2 separate regions of the Homo sapiens genome follow, and region 1 is linked to region 2. Evidence: promoter capture Hi-C in 16 types of primary human blood cells and fetal thymus (Javierre and others, 2016). All regions are on one chromosome and are shown on one strand. The core of a region is centred on a gene start or on the middle of the fragment in contact, and the rest is flanking DNA. Distances in the headings are between cores, read along the strand shown. Region 1 overlaps ASS1 (argininosuccinate synthase 1). Region 2 holds the start of PRDM12 (PR/SET domain 12).

What was found. Contacts are between HindIII fragments. The CHiCAGO score rates a contact against its expected background, and 5 or more counts as called.
Region 1: a fragment that was not itself captured here is called in contact with the fragment with the promoter of PRDM12 in region 2 in 6 of 17 cell types (megakaryocytes, erythroblasts, M1 macrophages and 3 more); the score reaches 7.6 in megakaryocytes.

The regions. Positions count from the first base shown.
Region 1 is chr9:130,453,121-130,458,597 of GRCh38, reverse strand. ASS1 (argininosuccinate synthase 1) reads right to left here. Exons shown (of 15, transcript NM_054012.4): 3 at 4,225-4,293; 4 at 9-197. Among named protein-coding and RNA genes, the nearest start is that of ASS1, 11 kb to the right of the region's middle. RefSeq lists an enhancer at 4,615-5,115. The HindIII fragment of the contact is 5,982 bases long and covers 1-4,241 here.
Region 2 is chr9:130,659,327-130,666,007 of GRCh38, reverse strand. It overlaps PRDM12 (PR/SET domain 12), which reads right to left and starts at 1,414. Exons shown (of 5, transcript NM_021619.3): 1 at 1,132-1,414. The coding sequence starts at 1,354. RefSeq lists enhancers at 167-840, 2,131-2,972. The HindIII fragment of the contact is 14,404 bases long and covers 1-6,681 here.

The sequences.
Region 1 (5,477 bases), core at 1-2,500, 210 kb after region 2:
TGCCTCACCTTTCCTGTGGCGCCGTGGGACACATACTTGGCCCCCTCCCGCTGGGCGATTTCCACTTGTTTGCGGGCGATGCAGGGCCTGGCAAGAGAGGTGCCCAGGAGGTAGCGGTCCTCATACAGTGCGCTGGACTGGATGGCCGGCCAGATGAACTCCTCCACAAACTCCCTGCTGACATCCTCAATGAACACCTACGGGAAGAGGAGCCCAGAAGGAAGAAGTAGGCAAGGACAGGGGCCATCTGGCATACAGAGCCCCAGGGGCCTCAGCTAGCTGAGACCTATACGGGGCCACCCCCGCTGTACCTGGTGCTTCTTCTTCTGCATCTGTAGTAGACATCATTCATCAATCCCAGCACACTGCACTGTTACTCTCCCTCCTGCACTCATGGCAGACATTGCTAATCAATAGCTCTCTTTTTTTTTTTTTTTTTGAGTCGAAGTCTTGCTCTGTTGCCCAGGTTGGAGTGCAGTGGCTCAGTCTCAACTCACTGCAACCTCCGTCTCCCAGGTTCAAGCAACTCCCCTGCCTCAGCCTCTTGAGTAGCTGGGATTACAGGCGCATGCCACCATGGCTTGCTAATTTTTGTATTTTTGGTAGAGACGGGGTTTCACCATGTTGGCCAGGTTGGTCTTGAACCCCTGACCTCAGGTGATCCAGCTGCCTCGGCCTCCCAAAGTGCTGGGATTACAGGCACAAGCCACCGCGGCCAGCCTGCTAATCAATCCTGATGCACCGTTCTGTGAAACTGGATGTGGCTTCTAAATCAGCCCCAACAAGATGAAACTTAGTTGTCACCTAAGATCTCACAGCAGTAGTTCCCAACCAGAGACGGTTTTGTCCCTGTTGGGGGTGGGAGTAGGGGAGGCATTTGGAAGTATCTGGAGATATTTTTGGTTGCCACAACTACCAGGTGGGGGGTGGAATTCTGGCATCTAGTGGGTAAAGGCTATGGGGATACTGCTAAAATCCTCCCGTGCACAGGACGGCCAGCCACACGGGAACAAGGCCAAGACTGAGAAACCCCGATCCAGAGGAATGGTTCTTGAAATGTAGACCCCCAGGGGTTCCCAATGACTTTTCAGGGAGACACTGAGTGAAAACTTTTTTTTTGTTTTTTTGAGACAGGGTCTTTCTCTGTCATCCAGACTGGAGTGCAGTGGTGTGATCCTAGCTCACTGCAGCCTCAACCTCCTGGGTTCAAGCAATCCTCCCACCTCAGCCTCTTGAGTAGCTGGGACTACGGGCATGTGCTACCACGCCCGGCTAAGTTTTTTATTTTTTGTAGAGATGGGATCTCACTGTGTTGCCCAGTTTTCTTCATAAACTTCAATAAAACAAGGCATCACATAGCGAGGAAGCCCTGGGAGGCTAAAAAAGAAAAACAAACAAACAAACGAAAAAACAAGTGAATGCAGAAAACCGCTACAAGAGTCCATCTGTTTTCTGTCAAGCCAGACATTACAGAGATTTGCAAAAATGGAAGCCAATAAGATTCTTAACTAAAATTTTTTGTTTGAGAAAATAGTTATTTTTCATAAGTGTAATGTTACTTATGTTAACATGAACTGTTCATTTAAAACATTTCAGCTTTTATTTCTAATGTGATAAATATCAACAGATGTAATCCACAAAAGCTCTCTAAGGCCTTCAGTAATTTTTATTTTTTTGAGATGGACTCTCTGTCATCCAGACTGGAGTGCAGAGGTGCAATCTTGGCTCACTGTAACCTCTGCCTTCCGGGTTCAAGTGATTCTCCTGCCTCAGCCTCCCGAGTGGCTGGGACTACAGGCATGTGGGGTTTCTCTACTAAAGAAACTAGGCTGGTTGGCCAGGCTGGTCTCAAACTCCTGACCTCAAGAGATCTGCCCACTTCAGCCTCCCAAAGTGCTAGGATTACAAGCGTGAGCCACCGCACCCAGCCAAGGCCTTCAATAATTTTTAAGAGTCGAGAAATTCTTGGTACTGCTTTTGCAACTTCCTGTGTCTATAATTATTTTGAAAAAAATCCTTTTAAAAAATGAAATAAAAAGGCATAGAAAAGAAAGCAATTGGGACTAAGGATATATAAAAAACATTAGGATAAATGTGTTTTTGTGTTTGTTTGGTTGGTTGGTTGGTTTTTTTTACAGAGTTTTGCTGTTGTTGCCCAGGATGGAGTGCAATGGTGTGATTTCAGCTTACTGCAACCTCCGCCTCCTGGGTTCAAGCGACTCTCCTGCCTCAGCCTCCCGAGCATCTGGGATTACAGGCACCCACCATCGCGCCCAGCTAATTTTTGTATTTTTAGTAGAGACAGGGTTTCACCATGTTGGCCAGGCTGGTCTTGAACTCCTGACCTCAGGTGATCTGCCTGCCTCAGCCTGCCAAAGTGCTGGGATTACAGGCGTGAGCCACTGTGCCTGGCCCATCCTAATGTTATATGCAAGAAAATAAACATTAAAAACGCCACGTAAATTAGAGTGTAGAGGATTCCCAAGACCACAAGTTTTGAGAACTGCTCATCTAGAATAAAGGACAAAAGCTGAAGCCGTGCACAAAGCCTGCTCCTGCGCTGCTGAAAGCGCACTCGAATCTTCAACACTCAGGGCTCTTTCTCCCCTTCCTGGACTACTGCTCAGACAACCCCTCTGCTCTCCAGCACTCGGGAGGCACAGAACCAAGGAGGGACATTCTAGTTCCAGGCCTGTGGCCAGTAGGTGACTTGGGACTGGGGCATCCACTCCCTCCCGTGTTCATTTTAACATGCTAATTACCCTGGCAACCCTGCAGAAGCACCCCACAGAGGGGATCAGCTCTGACCCTGCAGGTGGGCTGGTGGCCTTGCACATCATCCCTGCTATGTCCCCTGCTCACTCTCCCAAATGAAGGGGCACAAGTGGCAAGGGCTTCTCCATGGGGAGTGAGCACATGTGAGCAGGGGTCCTGATGACACTGTTCATCATAAATGCCCTGTATGGGACAGGGGTCTGCCTGCCACATGCCTAGATTCACAATCAAGGCACCAGACTCAATTGGAGTTCTCTGATTCTGTTGAATGAATGGAAGAATGGGTAGACAGAGAGATAAAAGAGGGAAGGACAGGTAGGGGGATGATGGACAGAAGGATGGATGATGGATGACAGATGGATGGATGGATGAATGGATGGATAGAAAAACGGTGAATGGATGAAGGATGGATGGATGGATGGGGGATGGATAGATGAATGGCTGGCTGTCTGGATGAATGGATGGATAGACAGTGGAGGGATTAATGACAGATGGATATGTGGATGGATGGATGGATAATGAAGGGATGGATGGGTGAATGGATAATGGGATGGATGGATAGATGATGGATGGATGAATGGATGGATGAATAGACGGATGGATGATGGATGGATGCATGGGTAGATGATGGATGGATGAATGGATGATGCATGGAAGGATGAAGAATGATGGATGGATGGATGGATGATGGATGAATAAATGGATGATGGATGGATAGACGGATGATGGCTGGATGAATGGATGATGGGTGAATGGATGGATGGATGGATGATGGATGAATGGATGGATGATGGATGGATGGATGATGGGTGAATGGATGGATGGATGATGGATGAATGGACGGAGGATGGATGGATAGATGGATAGATGGATGATGGATGGATGGATGAATGGATGGATGGATAATGGATGGGTGGATGAGTGGATGGGTGATGGATGGATGGGTGGATGGATGATGGATGAATGGATGAATGGATGGATGGATGGATGATGGGTGAATGGATGGGTGGGTGATGGATGGATGGATGGATGGATGATGGGTGAATGGATGGGTGGGTGATGGATGGATGGATGGCTGAATGGATGGATGGATGGATCGATGGATAGCTAATGGAGGGATGAATGATGGATGGATATGTGGACGAGTAGATAAACAGAGATAAAAGAGGGTGAGTGGGTGCATAGATGGACAGAGAGATAAAAGAGAAGGGAAGGTATGTGGGTGGGGAAGAGACACTCCACCTGGATGGGAAGGTGGGTGGGTGGAAGAGGGCGTGGGGGAGGCAGAAAAACAAGAGGGTTCACACACCTGAGAGCAGGATGATCTCATACTCTTAGAAGCAAGAAGACACACTGGAAGGGATGGGATCCCTGGGGCAGGAGCATCCACCACTGCCCTCCACATCACCGCCCCACTCCCAGCCCAAATCCCTGCCTCCCGCCTGGTACCTTTTTGGCCCCAAGCTTCAGTGCCTTCTTCCTGGCTTCCTCGAAGTCTTCCTTCTGGCCAATGTTGGCCTGAGAAGCAGAAGCGGAGAGGCTCCGTCAGCCCCTGGGGGGAGCCCTGAGTTCACACCATCCGCATGCAGCAGCCTCCCACCCCCTGCTACAGAGACAGCTTCCATTCCATGGCCAAGTCACAGTAAGAAGGAAAAAGGACAAAGCCCAAGGCCTGGAGAGGTGAGATTCTTCCAGGAGGTGAGATTGGGAGCTGGATTGTAGCGTGGTGATGGCTGGTGGCTTCCATGGGTTGGAGCATTGGCTGAGCCTGGCCCTGGCCACACAGGCTGCTGGGAGACAACCATCTGCTGTCATTGCTGGAAGGTCTAGGGTTCTCCTGAAACTCATCTGTCTTTTCCAGAAAACTCTTTCTCAGCCAGTGCAAAGATTAGCTTGTCAGGGCCTTCCTAGCCTCCAGCTCTCCTCCCTAGTCAAAGGCCATGCCTTGGCCATCCTGAGGCAGCTGAGAGGCGGGAGGCAGAGAAGCCCGTGCTCAGGAACTTCCAGCTCCGTCCCTGTGGCCAGTGCCCTGACCTCGGGGTCTGACAGCCCCTGTCTAGACACTGCCATGTTTCCTGCTGCCTGGACTCTGGCCTGCTGCCCAGATCCTGGCCTCAGCCCTCACTCCCTTCATTCGGCTCACCAGACCCTGGAATCTTGCCAAAGCCCAGCTGCAGGTGCTTATCTGAATCACATTCAGCTTTTAAATCCCCCAGGTGGTAGCCCAGGGGTCTATACGCCCAGCTCCAGCTCTGATTGCCCCGCTGTGCTACCTACAGTGAGATGGATACACCCTGGGCTCTTTGCAGCCCCTCAAAGCTGTGCTCTCACCCACCAGGTGACTGTGAGCAAAGTATTTCTTCCCCTGGGCCTCACTTTCCCCAACCTGAATGACAAGGGCATTGGGCGCAGTTAGACATGCCAATATGCCGGCAAACAAGCCACTTTTGGCAAGAGCTAAGTTTTGTCTGTCCAGAGACCCAGGCTCACTTCCTCTGGAAACAGAACCTTCTTTCCTGGGTGGACCCCATTCCACAGGGATGGAGAGGAAGAAATCCCGCCCACTGAAGGAGTAGGCTCATGGCCCAAGCCTCGCACCCCATGATGCAGCCATAGGGACTAATGCGTGGTGGGTCCCCATGGGCCCTACTGGGGGTAAGCCCTCCTTTTTGGGAAAGGTGGGCTATGAGGGTGACCATGAG
Region 2 (6,681 bases), core at 165-2,664:
TCTCTGCTCCCAGGCCCTGGGGTGCCAGGGAGGGCGGCGCCCGGGCTCAGACAAACCCCGATGTCATCTCTCTGGGCGGGGAGGAGCCGCGGCGGCCCCCAGCTCCCCGAGGGTTCCCCTGTCGGGCATCTGCGGCAGGGCTGGAAGCGGCGAGGCGCACAAGGGCGGCCTCCATGTCTTACAAGGTTCCCCTCTAAGCTACCTGGGAAAATACCCGGCGAGCGGGCCGGCTGAAAGGGGGGGGTTAAACGGTGTCCATTGCGGCGCGGCGGGCAATTTGTCACGCTGTTAAAGTGATCGCATTCATTCGGCTCCATTCGAAAGAAATTGCTAATTCTAAATTCATTAGCCCTGGAAGAATGCTGTAGCAGTAAATTGTAGCTCAATGCGGAGGGGACTTGTTTAAAAGGGGCCGAGGAATTCCCCTTACAAAAAAGGGGGATTAGATGGTTGACATAGCGTGAATGGAAGTGGAATTAGTCTTCACGGTAAATTAAGAGAGGAACAGAAATCGTAAAGGGGGAAAAGAGGGCGACGCGCAGAGATGCCAGAGCCAGGGAAAGATATTGTTTGCGGGTTGATGAATGAGGAATAAGAACTTGAGACATCTTAAAGAAAAGAAACTTTTCTCGCTCTCTCTTTCTCTCCCTCGCTCTCCCCGCGGCTTTTTCTCCCCGCCCGCCCTCCCTCCACCCCCTCCCCAGCCCCGGCTGCCTTTTAAAGTTCTTGGTTTAAGTGGGAACTTTCGTGGGTCAAGCCCAAGTTAACTAAATGAATTTAAAACCCCTTCTTTTTGAGTCAACTGCTATTACACGCCTAGTAAGGCTGTAAATGCCGGGAACCCGCCAGCTCAAGCGCAGGAGGGGAAGGGAGGGGCCGGCGGGGGCGTCGGGGCCGAGCGACGGGGTCGCCGGGGTCGGTCCTTGAGCCGGGTGGGCTGCGGAGCTGCTTGGTGGCTCGCGTCCTGGTTTGGCCCATGGGGAAACTGAGGTGCACCGAGCGCCGGGAGAGCCCAGGTTGGCGCGAGTAGCAGCGAGGCCGGGTATCCCAGCCGCGTCTCGCGCATCGCCAGGACGGGAATGGGGGTCGCCGGGAGGAGGGATTGCGCCGGGCTCCGACGGCTGGACTCACCGCCGGAGAAGGACTGCGCCAGCACCTCGGCGGTGAAGGCTGTCTTGGGGCTGGCGTGGTGGCTCTTGTCCTCGAAGAGCTGCTCCCCGAGCACGTTGCGCCAGCGGCCGTACAGGAAGCTGTGCAGGATGTCGGAGGTGATAACCTCGGCCAGCGCCAGTCCCGGCGCCTTCAGCCCGGTCTTGAGCACCAGGGCCTCAGCCGGGAGCACGGAGCCCATCATGGGCGGCCCGGAGCTCCCCGGCGCCGGGGGACGGCCGGGCCGACGGGGGAGGTGGGCGGGCGAGAGGGGAGCCCAAGGGGCGAGAGGAGAGCGCTGCGATGGAGAAGGAACCAGAGCAGGGGGAGGACGGAGAGGAGGAGGACGCAGGAGGGAGCGGGAGGTGAGGGGGCGACTGGGAGGAAAGCGAACGAGGGGGAGAGGGGAAGAGAGATGGTGAAATCTGTAGAGATGGCAAAGGCGGCGCGGAGGGTGGAGAGACGCGGGTGGAGGCGGAGGCGGGTGCGGGGGGTGCAGGGTGGGTGAGAGGCGGGTGGTTGCAGGGAAGCGGCAGCAAGGGGCTCAGGCGCGCGCTAGCCTCTCGCACACTCGGCCGGGGCCGTCTTCCCCTTGGCAAAATCTCAGCGCCTTTATAGGAGCCGCAGTGACCCTCCTAATTGGTTATTAATGACCCCCTGACGTCGGAGGACAGACTTGTTGTACCCGGCTGGGCTCGAGGAGCCTTCGTCGCGAGAGCGCGAGGGGCGGGGGCGCGCGGACCGCTCCAAACAGTACCCCTCCACTCCTCTCTCCCCTTCCTGGTCCTTCCTCCCCCCTCCTGTTTTTCCTTCTCTCCCCGTGGGAAGCGCAGGGCAGGGAGGGAGGCTCAGCCGGCTCTGAGGAGAGGAGGGGACGGAGAAGGGGAGGGGGTGCGGCGAGGCTCTCTAGGACTCCAGGGACCAGGCTAGACAAGAGGGGACGCCTGGCTTCGGGCCCCGCGCTCCCCTCAGGCCTGATCTATGTTCACCGGCCTGGCCCAGCCCGGCGTTCACCTTTACTTTGCTGCCCCGGCTGGCCGGCCCAGCCCTGCACCGCTCTCCCTCCCCGGCCAGAGCCCGCGTCCTCTTCCCTCTCCGGCCCTGCACTCCCCGGGCCGCCACAGTCGCCCCGAGCTCGCGCGCAGCCCTAGTTGCCACGCGGATCCCCTGCTCAGACTGCGCTGCTGAAGCCGGCGCTTCGCTTCATACGGGCCGCGCCAACTCGGTCGCTGTGCACGGTCGGGTGCGAAACTCCTCCGCGGGCTCACGGGGCTGCCGAGGCGGGGCCGCAGCGGCCGTCGGGGCTGGGGCTGGTCCCGGCCTGAGACAGCTTCATGGAAGGCCAGGCTCCCGGCCCTTGCGGGGCCAGGTCGGGGGTCGAGATGGGCGGACAGGAATCGCCCTGGCAGCCTGTCTCTGGGAAAAGAATTTCCTACGGGATATAGGGGGATTGAAAGGGGTCCCGAGACCCTTCCTAGGTGGGAGCAGGCGTGCCTGAGAGCGAAGTCCCTCAGAAACTGCAGGCAGCTCCGCGAGAGGCCTCAGTGCGGGTTCGGCTTGCGGCCCGGCTTTCCGGCTCCTTGCTGAGCTGCAACCTCGGGAAGCCGGTGGCGTTGCGGCGCCCCTTCCTTCTTGCCTCCTAGTTCTTTCTTTCTCCTCTGCCTCTCTCTTCTTTCCCTTCCTCTCCTCTATTCCTCCTGCCCATCATCCCAGGAGCAGACTTGCTTTGCGGCGGTTTCGAGGCACCTCGGAGCCCAGCGATCCCCTCTCCCGAAGCAGGTAGCTGCTGAGCCCAGCGGAAGGCCCCGCTTCCTGCAGGCTTCGCGGCTCCCCAGTGTCAGCCTCAAGCCTCGGACCCCAGGCCCTGACATGCTGGGTGAGGGAGCTCACCCCACCTGCCGCACTTCTGGCTCCCATCACCAGCCTACAATTTCAGATGCCGCTAACAGAGGTGCCTGGACCCTCTCGGCGTGGGTCAGGCTCACGGATTAGTCTCCGCTGGACTGTGTGGACTCCCTAGACCTTCTCCTCAGCGCGGAGGACTTGGGTGGAAGAACAGCGAGCTGACCTCCCATGAGCGAGACCCTGTCCAAACGCCTGTTGGCATAGACGCCCCTCCACCACCCGGACGCGCCTTGGCTAAGAGGGTCTCACACCTGGCGTCCAGACTCCAGACCCCTGGTCCCCAGTTCCTGCCAGTAGTCTCCGGCATCCCCCGTCCCCGTTGGGACGCAAAGGGAGGAAGGCGGCGGTAGCTGGCCTTCAGACCCTGCGTCCGGGTCCGCCCGAGGCTGGAGCCCAAGGAAGGGCACACCTGGCAGAAGGCAGGACCGTTGGGCAGGGCGCCAGCAGAGGGCAGCGCTGCTGAGGAGGGAGGTGGGTTAGGGTCGCCGAACCCTCCACTCATTTTTCGACGCAGCTTGTGGGTCGCATCGGCTCCCTGGCCAGAGCTCGAGTCTGAGGGGGCGTATGGAGTCCGATGGCTCCTGCAGGGGAGCCTCACCGGGGCCTACTTCTTGGCTTCTGGGAAGACCTAGGTGGAGAGGACAAAGTGCTAGGAGCGAGGGAGACGACGTCGGGGAGCGCTGCCAGGAGCCAAGCGCTGCGGCAGCTCCCAAGCCCCGAAAGCGACCTCAGTTCCTCCAGGACACCAAAGGGGGATAAGGACTGCTGTGTGTCCTGTGGACTGCCCCTTTCCTCTCTGGGCCTCGGTGTCCCTGTCTGTGCAATGGTTTGAGTTGGACTTTGTGAACTGAGGTTTCTTTGCTTGGTCTCTCTTTGGGTAAGATCACTTTACCCCACGACAACCCCGAGGATTTTGCCCTCTCCAGGGCCACGTCCCACTGCGGGAAGCCCTCAGGTCTGTGCATCCTCCGTGCTGGGGTGCAGCGTTTGGGTCCTGAACCCCGGCTTAGAGTTAGAGGCTTGGATTCCGCTGGCGCAGTGACCACGGGCTCGGACTGCGGCCAGGGAGTCCCATTCCTCTCCTCCGGACCCGCAAGCCCGGAGAGCAGTACTGGGAGCCGGGCAGAAGCGGAGCGCAGAACGTCCTCCCAGCTGGTGCGCCCAAATCTCCACCGCGCTCACATTTTGTGCTTCTAGTCTAGCGGCAAAACCCACCTGGACCCCCGCCCGGGGAAAAAGGAGCCCGTAGGTAGCGCCCAGTCTCAAGGTGCATTGAAATAGGGAGCAAGACCCTGTGCTCACATCTCCCCGGGAGGAGATTTCGAGGGGAAACATTCCGGGCTTTCCCAGCGGATGACCCGTGTTATTTTGTCATTTTCCGCGGGGCCCAGGCGCGGAATGTGCTCGCGCAAAAGCCCCCTCCCCTCGGCCGGGCCGGAGCTCTCAGGCTCCGTCGCCCCCCTCGCCCGCTGGCCGCCACTTGGCGATCTCTTTAATATTCATGGGCGTTAATAGAGAGGCCCTCAGTATATCGGTCCATTGTGGGCGGCTCGTAGGACTTGAATAGGCCTCGGCCCCCTTTCTTCGGCGCGGCTTCCCGAGGGGCCGGGCCAGGAGTGAATGGCCCCGCTTCCCGCTCCGCGCCCCCTCCCCCTTTCAGGGAGAACATCTTTATCCTCTTCTCCGCTGCCGCCGCCGCCCGGGCCCCCATTCACGCGGCCCCGGCTCCGGGCGGAACGAATCAATTTGCCGCGGCTCTTCGGAGGTCATCCTCGCCGCCCGGGTGCCCTCTTCCCCTGAGCCCACGGGAGTGGAGAGAGGGCCGCCGCGGCAGGCCGACGGCCCCACGGAGGGACATTGAAGGGGAAGTGGAGGAGAAGAGCAGGGGCGACCCGGAGGGGTGGCTGGGCCGGGGCGGGCAAGACAGTCTCAGGGCCCGGCAGCCGCCCGGGGTTGGCTAATTTCTAGTTGTTGCCCCGCTCAGGGCGGAGCGCCGAGGGGAAGGAGGCCGCGGCCCAAGCCCGGAGGTCCGTTCGTCCTCCCCTTGAGGCACCAGCGCGCGTCCCTTCGGCCCGGCTGAGGCACCTATGAGAACGGGGGCGTGTGGGACAGCCCAGGGCCCCGCACGACGCTTTCGTTCTCGCCGGTGCGCCGGGGCTTAGCTCCGGGAGAGCCAGGTCCCGACAGTGCGCTTCAGGGGGACGCTCGGAAGGGCGGCCGGCTTCGCGGCTCCTGCGCCCTCGCTCTGGGGCCCGGGCCTGGGTGCGGGGGAGGGGGGTGCGAGTCGGTCAGGCGGGGCCAAAGCGCACGGGTCCCCGCCCTGCCCGCCCCGCCGGCCCTCAGAGGCGCAGAAAGAAGCCCATTGTCCGCCGAGAAATACATTTTTGGGGGCCGAGTGAAAGCCCGTCTTTCTTTTGAACTTTAGAAGAAAGTCTCCTGTTCTCGCCCCTCGGAGGGAGAGATTTGTCCCCCCTCCCGGGAGCTCCGCGCGCCTCCTCCTCCCGAAACATCTGCCGGGGGAAAATCCACCCTGGAGGGCAGATCGCGCTCGCTTTAAGCCTGGCGAACTCATTAAAAAGATATTAGCGGCGGGGGCAGGTCCCGCGCAGGTATCGATCGGCCGGAATGAGCCCGAGGAAGAAAAGGCGAAGAATGCGCCCGCGCCGCGCTCAGACGCCCACCCGCCCCGCCCAGCCCCTGCGCCCCAGCCCCGCATAGGGAGAGGGGCCCCCGCGCCGCCTCGCACTGTCTGTGAGTCCCGCGGCCCGCGGTCCAGCCGCCCCCACCCGGGCTCCTCGGCACAGCCCCTCGGCAACCCTCCCCTGCCGGTGCTGCGCTCCGTCCTGGCTTCCCCTGCGCGCAGGTTCCCGGCCGCTCCCCTCCTCCGCCCGCTGCCGTCGCGCGCCCAGCATCCGCGTCTCTCTTCTCCCCCTCTCCTTCTCTTCCTCCTTCCCCAGCGCTCCCCTCTTTCGCTGGCGCTCCGACTCCCTCTCCAGCTTCGCACACCCTCTCCGCTTCCTCCTCGCACGTCTCTCTCTGGCTTTCTGAGCCTCAATCTTTCGCAGTGGCCCAGGAAATTCCTTCCTCGCGTGGGGCCCGCGCCGCTCCCCTCCCCCCACCCCCGTTCCCCGTAAGACGGTTCAGGGTTCCAGGGCGCCCCCGCCGGCGCGTACAAAGGCGCGGCTGGCTGCCAAGGCGGGTGGGGGCGAGGCCGAAAAAAACGGTTTCAACAGACGTGACTCGGGGCCAGGCCTGCGCGGGGCTGCCGGCGGAGTGGCGGCCTCGGCTCAGTGAATGGGGACAGCGGCCCCCTCTCCCACCCCACCCCTGTCCCCTCCCAATGTAATTAGCTTTCAAGGCTCGGGAGAGACAAAGGCGCGCCCCGGGGCGCCCACGTGGAGTGCGTAGGCGCGAAGTCGGCGCCCCGACCGGCAGGTGACTGGCACGCGAGTCTCCCCAGGCGCCCAGGGGCGGAGGAGGGGAAGCCCCTCCCCTGCGCCTCTCGAACCCCCTTCCATCGCCCACACCCCGGTCCCCAGGCCAGCGATGCCAGCGCCACAGCCCAGGCTGATCAAGGCGGCGGGAACGACGGGAGAGACGCCGGGGACACCAGGAGACCGGGCGGTG